Linked DNA regions of Homo sapiens: region 1 is linked to region 2. The links are contacts of gene promoters, found by promoter capture Hi-C in blood cells and fetal thymus (Javierre and others, 2016). All regions are on one chromosome and are shown on one strand. Each heading gives the region's core, a stretch centred on a gene start or on the middle of the fragment in contact. The rest is flanking DNA. Distances are from core to core; before and after follow the strand shown. Region 1 overlaps MKX-AS1 (MKX antisense RNA 1). Region 2 holds the start of MPP7 (MAGUK p55 scaffold protein 7).

Region 1 (4,528 bases), core at 1,923-4,422, 550 kb after region 2:
TTTTCCCTTTCTACTAGCCCAAACTCCTTTCTCAGCAGGATTTATGGTAGCCTACTCCATCAAAGCACTTTTAACAAAGATCAGTGAAAAGCAGAACAAAAAGATGCTCACACCTGCTGCCTGGCCTGAGGTTCCCTGGCCCAGATACTTGGGCAAGAATTAATCTTTCTTGTGCAGAGAATGAGTGGAGCCCCAGGAATGACTTCACTGCCACCCATAACAAGTTTATGCACAGAACACCTCTGTTCCAATCCCTCTCTCCCTTTAGCACTTTTCCAAAACAGGGGTTTTATAAAAGTGGGTTGCAGGGAGGTAGGTTAGATAAAGGCATGCACAGGGAAGAAAAGCCAAAAGCTAACCTCTGTGTGTCTGCCATTACCACATTTTTTTTTCTCAACGGAAGTCCTAAAAATCTTTCTTGAAACCCAGAAGTTTTTGGCATAACATTCAAAACAGCCTGATGTAAGAGGTGAAAATACTGTTTTTCAATCAGGCTCAAATTTCTGAAATAATGCTCTCTTTTTGCATGTTTTCGGGAAGGATGTTGGTAATATGGTTACAAAATTTTTAGCAGACACATAAAATTATCATTCTGTCATCTTTAAGCTCCCTCATGCATTGCTACAGATGACTTATAGATTTACTGGATTCAAGCAATCTTTATATCAGATACCCTAAGGCTTTTTAGATGAGGTATATTTATTTTCCAGTGCTTTCTTAACAGGTTTGTAAGCTAGGCAAGGATCGTGTCTTTTAAATCAGATACGATGCAGTTCTTGGCACAGAACTTTGCATGCGGGTGCTCCATAAATACGTATTGTTGATTATTAAAAAGAAAACAATAAAAAATAGCTCAAATTTTGTGAGTTTTTTGGAGGGGGGGTGGTGGGGTGTCAGTCAGAAAACAGTAAGCCTTGAAAATTAATCAGCATTTTCCGTGATTACATAAAACATAAGCATCAAAACCCAAGTACCAATACTGCGCCTAAAGGCAGATCATATCAATAACTAAGGCATATCGTATCAATCGCTAAGGCATATCACATCAATAACTAAGGCATATCATATCATATTGTATCATATCAATAACTAAGAAGAGGAAGAAAGAAAGGAAGGGAAGAAGGGAAGAAGCGGGTGAGAGGAAGGATGTAAGCAAGAAGGGAGGGAAAGAGGAAGAAAGAAATGAAGGAAGGGAGGGAGGGAGGGAGGAAGAAAAGATGGAAAGAAGGGAGAGAGAGAGGAAGGAAGGAAGGAAGGAAGGGAGGGAAAAGAGAGAGAGGAAGGAAGGAAGGAAGGAAGGGAGGGAAAAGAGAGGGAGAAAGGAAGGAAGGAAGGAAGGGAGGGAAAAGAGAGAGAGGAAGAAAGGAAGGAAGGAAGGGAGGGAAAAGAGAGGGAGAAAGGAAGGAAGGAAAGAAGGAAGGGGGGAGAGAGGAAGGAAGGAGGAAAAAGAGGGAGAGAAGGAGAAAGGGAGAGAGAGTAAAGAAAAGAAGGAAAGGAAAGGAAAGGAGAAATGAAAGGAAATGAAAAAGGAAAGGAAATGAAGGAAAGGGAAGGGAAGGGAAGGCAAGGGAGGGGAGGGGGAAGGGAAGGGAAGGGAAGGGAAGAGAAGGGCAAGGGAAGGGAAAGGAAAGGAAAGGGGAAAGGAAAGGAAAGGGGAAAGGAAAGGAAAGGGGAAAGGAAAGGAAAAATTAAGATTTTTAAAAAGACCATAGCGCCAAATAAATGTGAAAATAATAAGGCTGATTCTCTAAACACATGCAACACTGTCTCAGGAGGCAAGGGGAGGAAGCACTTTTTCTTTCCATCTCCTTTCCAGATCGCCCTGGTGTGGCAGCCTCTAGGCATCTAGGAAGCGCTTTTCTTAAGCCCACCTGTGGCCACTGGGATCATTTTTTTTACAAGTGTCTATTACTTAGGGTAAAGACTAAGTTCCTTTAGCAAGGAAGCCCCCAAATACAGTGACTTAAATAAGGGGTATTTGTCTCCCCTGCAATGAGAGCTGAGTAGTCCAAGTCATAGGTCAGCAAACACAACCCCTCGCCGGCAAAATGCAGCTCATGGCCTTTTCCAATTTCTCAGGTAAGAATAGCTTTTACATCTTTAACTGGTTGGAAATAAAAAATAAAAGCAGCAACACTATTGTATGTGTATGTCTCTTCTCATGCTGCTAATAAAGACATATCTGAGACTGGGTAATTTATAAAGGAAAGAGGTTTAATGAACTCACAGTTCCACATGGATGGGGAGGCCTCACAATCATGGCAGAAGGAGAATGAGGAGCAAAAGGACGTCTTACATGGTGGCAGCCAAGAAAGCTTGTGCAGGGGAGCTCCCCTTTATAAAACCATCAGATCTCATGAGACTTATTCACTATCACTGCTATCACAGGAACAGCACGGGAAAGACCTGCCCCCATGATTCAATTACCTCCCACCAGGTGCCTCCCATGACACGTGGGAATTGTGGGAGCTACAATTCGAGATGAGATTTGGGTGAGGACACAGCCAAGCCATATCAGTGAGAATGAGAATGACACAAATTCAATCTTTAGTGTCATTCAATCAAGTCTTATTGGAACACATCAACACTCATTCCTTAACTCATTCATAGTCAAGTCTTGTCTACAGTTGCTTCTGCACCACAGTGATGGAGTTCAATCATCATCGGGGAGATCACGGGGCCCAGAAAGCTTTTGCTATCCGGCCCTTTACAGAAAAAGGTTTTTGGACTCAGGTTAGGTTAGCCTGATAGCTCTCACTGGAGTGATTCATTCAAAGCCACAGGTTCCCTTTATCTTGCGATTCTGCTGTTTCTTAGGTTATTTGCTGCTCGGCTGACATGGGTCACTGCCTGTTACGGACTGACCTGTGTCCCCTCAAAATTCATATGTGACACCCTAACCCCCAATGGAACTGAACTTGGAGACAAGGCCTTTAATGAGGTGAATAAAGTTAAATGAGGTCAGCCAGGCATGTTGGCTCACTTTGGGAGGCCAAGGTGTGTGGATCACTTGAGGTCAGGAGTTTGAGACCAGCCTGGCCAACATGGCAAAACCCCATCTCTACTAAAAATACAAAAATTAGGTGGGCGAGGTGGCAGGCACCTGTAATCCCAGCTGTTCAGGAGGCTGAGGCAGGAGAATTGCTTGAACCTGGGAGGCAGAAGTTGCAGTGAGCCAAGATAGCTCCACTGCACTCCAGCCTGGGTAACAGAATTAGACTCTGTCTCAGAAAAAAAAAAAAAGTTAAATGAAATTACAACAGTGGGATCCTAATTTGCTACAACTGGTGTCCTTTTTAAAAAGAGGGAGAGGTAGCAGACCTCTCTCTCTCTCTCTCTCTCTTTCTCTTTCTCCTCCTCTCTACCCCACCCCAGCATGAGCACAGAGAAAAGGTCATGTGAGGACACAGTAAGAAGGTGCTGTCTGCAAGTCGGGGAGAGAATTTACCAGAAACCAACCCTGCCAGCACCTTGATCTTGGACTTTGAGTCTCCAAAACTGTGAGAAAATACATTTCTGTCATTTAAGCCACCCAGTCTGTGATATTCTGTGATGGCAGCTGGAGTGAACTAATACCCTGCCACATCCATGCTCCAACCGTTGGACACAGGAAGAGTTAAAGGGAGAGAAGGGCAGCAATTTCCTTCTAAGCTTGTTGAGCAGAAGTTGCACACATCACTCCTGCTCACATTCAGTCCTTTGGTGAATCTATTCAGTTATCCTACACATAGATTGAAAATGAAAACAGAGAAGATGGATTTGGGGAGGGTCAACCAAAAGCATGACACATTTTGGAGCACATATCATGATTAAATATTTAAAATCTACGGATTTCCTGAAGTCCATTAGGTTTCATACATAGAGCCCTACTGGCCTAGGGACAAAAGTCTTCACTATTTTTATTTAAAAGGACACTTTTTGACATAAAGGCAAATTGATTCTCAAGCTAGAAGAGTCTTCTGAAAGTAATTCTAGTATGTAAGTGTAAATGCGTATTTTAAGGATGAAATATTCTGCCAGTTCCCCTCAAGACCCCAATGTATAGTATATTTTCTTGTGTGTAATATAGGGGACTCTAATTTGAGGTCACTGAAGATACTTTGGTATCAAGAGAAAAGATGGGTTGTTAGGGGTCAGTGTCACATCAGGTCCTGTCTCAAGCAAGACCTGGAGTAGAACAAGACGTTAACCCACTTGGATCTCAGTTCTATTGATTGCTTATTATGTGTATTTTCTGCACTTGCACATACTTAATGGTTTTTAAAATTGCGGTGATAAAGTACTTGCATTTCTGGCCAGAATGAATTTGACTCATATATAATCATTATCAAATGTTCCTATCTTGACTAGCTGCTTTGTGAAGAAAAAAAAATTAATTCCCATTCCATGAAATGTTGAGCAAGGAGAGAAATACATTTTACTTTTTCAAACAATGGGTGCTTTTTCATCACTTTTACAAATAACCTTATATTGCTTGTGATAGGGTATCCCTTCTTTGTTACATGATGTGTTTGAAAAGCTATGTGCA
Region 2 (4,470 bases), core at 334-2,833:
CAAAGTACTTACTTTAGGACACGTATTTTTAGACTACAGTTTAGAATTACAGTTATTATTAGAAAGGTTTGGTAAAAACTCTTTTTGTTAGGCAATAAGGTTATTCTGTCCTCCAAAGACCTTTACTTTATTCTCAGGAAGTAAGAGAGAAAAAAGAATTTCTTGTCTTCTTTCTATCAGGTGTTTTGCCCTTACTTCTCTTTAAGTTTATGTTTACCTTAACATTCCTTTCCTTCCTCAGGTTTGCTTTTTGTCTATCTCCATTTTTCACTATTACGTAATTCACGGAGTTGCTGGGGGGAAGTGCTTAATTTCAAATAGCCTGTTTTAGAACTTTGCGAGAATGACAAGAACAAACAGAATGTTAAGGCAGCTAGAGAGAGTTAAGTGAGAGTGGTCCCTAGGTGAGAAATGCTTCTTGCCTTCTAGGCTGACACCAGTTCTGGGGGATGTGTTCTGAGAGCTCATATTAACTGCAGGTCATTGATCCTTATCTCAATCCCCTTCCTCTCCCTTCAGCTTTCCATTCAAAGTCTCTATCACATCTTGAAGTGTTGTCACATTATTTTTTTTCTGATGATTCCCTCCATCAGCTGAGCTTTCCAATTTATATTACCTGATTTTTTTTTGTCTTCTGCTTTTTACTACCCCTTTTTCTAAAGCTTTATTGATTGTGTACTTTGGATTCTAATTCTTCCTATAAGAGTCTTCCTGTAATTCTGTTTGCAGTGTAGTGCTGTCCACATTATGTGTTGGTTACATGATAGGAAGGAGTATGGGGGCACCTCGGTCACATATGTAAAGTTCTTTAAGAGAGCTGAAGGGCGCTGATACCAGTTCATGTTTTTTCGGGGTAGCCCTCAGATATTAAGCATGTTTACTGTATTTTCTTCTATTGTGAAAGAATCAGTTCTCTGGATTTCCTTAAAGTTTGTCTTTACCATTCTCCGCACCCTACTCATTTTTCTATTTAAGAATTTTTTTTTCTAATCATGTAGTACATGTTCAATATGGAACACAAAAAGGTAATAAGAAAAAGTCACCTACAGTGTCGCCAAAGGTGAAAACACCTTATGTCTTTTTTCGTGCATAACAATATCCCTCTCAATCTTATGCAGCATTTTTAAACCTAGGAGACTTGTCTGAATCCAAAGGAAGTTAAAGATTACGTTATTCACCAAGTTCATACTGAAATCAGAGAATCGCAGCGGCTTAAGAAAACTCGCATCTGGCGAATGAACCTGCGTATCCGGGGTTCTCCTCAGGGAGGTTGCTCGTCCATGAAACACACTCCAGTCTGCAGCCACCTGGGAGTGGGAACCAAGGGCGAGCGAACCGGGCGGGCAGGGGTGGAACTTGCGGGGACTGCGGGTATGAGGAGGAGCTACAGAGCTGTCACCAATCAGAGCCCAGCTTTGTTTTCTCTTGCCGACCAATGAGGGAGTTCTGCTGGAGAGGCGTCTTCAAGTCTGAGACGCCTATCGCCTTCGCAGCCTATCAGCAGGCCCCTCTTACCCGCGGGCGGTGCAGCCCCGCCCCGCCCCTCCAACCGCGGTCCCGCCCCTCCGAGGGTGGGGGCCGTGTTGGTTACTAGCCGGGCTGGAGGCGGGGGCCGGGCTCCCACTGGGCTCGTGCGTTCTGCGCCCGCCGCGGCGGTGCCGAGCCCGCTGGCTCCCGATTGTCCTCTGCGGCGGTGGCGGTCGCTGCCTCCTTGCCTCCGGGCCCGGGGCTGCAGGGGCCAGAGCGAGTGCGCCTCCTGCCCGCGGACCGCGGCAGCCCAGAGCAGGTAATGGGGCGCCTCTGGGGAGCGCCTGTCGGAGCCCAGGGCTAGGCTCGGGCGGTGGGGTCGGCCCCCGAAGCTGCTCCCTGCGCCGGCGACCGGGCCGAGCGGTGCCGCGGTCCTCCGGAGCCTCCTGCCGGCCTCTAGGCGCCTCAGCCTGGGAGCCCGCGGCGGGCACCTTGTGAGGAGGTGGGGGCGGGGCCGGGGCAGGGGCGGGGCCGCCTCGGGCGGGACCCTGAGGACCCCTGGAGACCCCTGTTGACGCGCGGGACTCCGGGCGGGGGCGGCGGCGGGGCAGACCCAGAGCGGGGAGAACCGACAGGTGGAGGAAAAACTGCGGAGTTGAGTCAGAGTCCGGCTCCCCGGGGAAAAGAACCGACTGAAAGGGAGCGATAAGCTGGCTGGCTTCTTTTTTTTCTTTCCCTAAGCCAGAAAGGCGTCTTCACTTGGGTCGTGTTAATTACATGTTTTCTGAGAACAGGCGTTTGGCCGTGTAATCTACACGATAGCATTATTTATTTACTTATTTGCTATTTAAAAAATTAAAAGCAGCATTTAGCGTGAATCTATTTGGGGGCTTTTTCTTAAGTGACAGGTAGACCCAGCCGAGTAACTCAGCTTTGTCTGGGCTGAAGTGGGGAGCGGTGAGGTAGGAATGAGGGGGAGGAGTGTTCGTGAGGAATGCCTGTGCAGGTTTGAAAGGATTGTGGGGGTGGGACCTTGTTTCTGTCACTGTGCCATGGGTGGGAGTAGAATTGTGATTTTTTTCTTTTTCTAATTTTTAAAAGCAATATTCACATTTAAAAAAGGGGGGGCTCTCTAAAAACAGTCTCTGTACTCGAGGCTTTGGGGATGCACCTGCTAGTCAGGCAGTAATAGTTTGCAGGTAAATCCTGGGCTATTAATTACGTAATTTGATTTACTTATAAAGAAGTATCTTGAATTGTTGCTGCCTTTCCTTTGACTTGCTCAATATATTGCTTGTTTACAAGTGAATTGATGAAGGTCACTGAGTTTTAGCGGTAATGTCACAGCGATGGCCCTTGGAGAGTTTTCTATGCTCAGGTTCACTCTGGTTCTATAAAAACAGTATTTCCATTTAATCGTGAAGCTCATAGCACTCTATCAATTATATAGTATGCCATCCTCCTACTCTTCTGAGGCAGGCTGTGCATAGCATGTCCATTTTACAGGTATGTCAACTGAAAGCCCTAGAAATGAAAGGAATCCTGCCCCACTTTACTCCTACTTTATTTTATACCTATAATGGATTTAATCCAAAATCTGGGTAAGATTCCCGCCATCAAGCCAACTTCTGCATACCAATTTGATCCCGTATACACAGGTCAGAGGTGGAGATGGTTATTTTCAAGTAAAGAAATATTATCTGCGAGGTTTTTCTTTCCATTCAGGTTGCTTAGCTAGTTTGAATTTCAGGTGAAAGGTAATTTTCCACACAGGCAAAACAAACAAAAGTTAGGAATGCTGTGTGAAAATCTCTATTTTAAATTTTGGGAAGCTTTCCAAATTAGAGAACCTTATTTGTGTTTGCATCTCTAGCTCAGCATTGAATTTCGGTACCTTTTTTTGAATTGAATAGAAATAATTGATATGCAGAAGGAAAATACTAATGAAGTGTAATGCATTTTGATCATGACTTATGACTTTGTTTCGGGAAGTGTTTACTGTAAATTTATAGACGGATTGAAGAATAATTTCTTAATTAGAATAACTTGACCAAAGGAGTTTGGGCATTAGTGTGGGACAGGCTGAAATGGGTAGTTGGGAGTAGCCGCTTGTATGATGTTAAGGCTTAGGGAATTCTAGAGAATCGTTAGGTTTTGTTAAATTTACTAGTTATCAGGAACATGAAAATGTCTTATGGATTACTGAATGGAACTCTTTTTTTTTTTTTTTCTGAGGTGGAGTCTCACTCTGTTGTCCAGGCTGGAGTGCTGTGGCTCACTGTGATCTCTGCCTCCCTGGTTCAAGTGATTCTCCTGCCTCAGCCTCTTGAGTAGCTGGGACTACAGGCGCATGCCACCACGCCCAGCTATTTTTTTTTTTTTAATATTTTTGTAGAGATGGGGTTTCACTATGTTGGCCAGGCTGGTCTCGAACTCCTGACCTCAAGTGATCTGCCTGCCTTGGCCTCCCAAAGTGCTGGGATTACAGGCGTGAGCCATTGCACCCAGCCTGAATGTAACTGTTCTAATCATGAAGTTATCTCTTGTTTTGTGGCTAATACCTCTGTTTCACATGTACATTTTAACATATTCATGTAACATATAAGGCAACTCTTCTTACACAAGGCTGTCACTCTAGCCCAGCATTTATTTACTTATTTATGTTTTAGTGGCTTTATTTAACTTTTACTCTCCTGTCAAAATTTCTAGCACCCAAGCAAAAATTTCCATAAAGGAACTTTTATCATCTGTTGATTATACAGAAAATGAATCATTTATTCTCATAAGCCCAGCCCTCTTGCATTGTGGGACACTGGAAAGATATTTTGGCTGTTTGTAAAGTATTTGCTTGTATTCTTACCTGAAGCTTTGACTTCTCCCCCTCCCCCAATGGTTTTCAGAGTTTCTGTGACTTTTTTCTTTAAATTAATTATGACACTACCTGACTTCCACTAGATGGTGCACTGGGGGGCGCTTACTGGAGATTTCAAACAGATTTTTGTT

What was found. The method cuts DNA at HindIII sites, captures the fragments that hold promoters and counts their contacts. A CHiCAGO score of 5 or more calls a contact.
Region 1: a contact is called between a fragment that was not itself captured here and the fragment with the promoter of MPP7 in region 2, in 1 of 17 cell types (fetal thymus). The highest score is 7.7, in fetal thymus.

What each region holds. Positions count from the first base shown.
Region 1 is chr10:27,750,067-27,754,594 of GRCh38, reverse strand. All of the region lies in intron 1 of MKX-AS1 (MKX antisense RNA 1), which reads right to left. Among named protein-coding and RNA genes, the nearest start is that of MKX, 6.5 kb to the right of the region's middle. The HindIII fragment of the contact is 962 bases long and covers 2,692-3,653 here.
Region 2 is chr10:28,300,177-28,304,646 of GRCh38, reverse strand. MPP7 (MAGUK p55 scaffold protein 7) reads left to right here and starts at 1,583. Exons shown (of 17, transcript NM_001318170.2): 1 at 1,583-1,786. MPP7-DT (MPP7 divergent transcript) reads right to left here and starts at 1,478. Exons shown (of 2, transcript XR_930772.3): 1 at 218-1,478. RefSeq lists a silencer at 1,397-2,036. The HindIII fragment of the contact is 2,637 bases long and covers 665-3,301 here.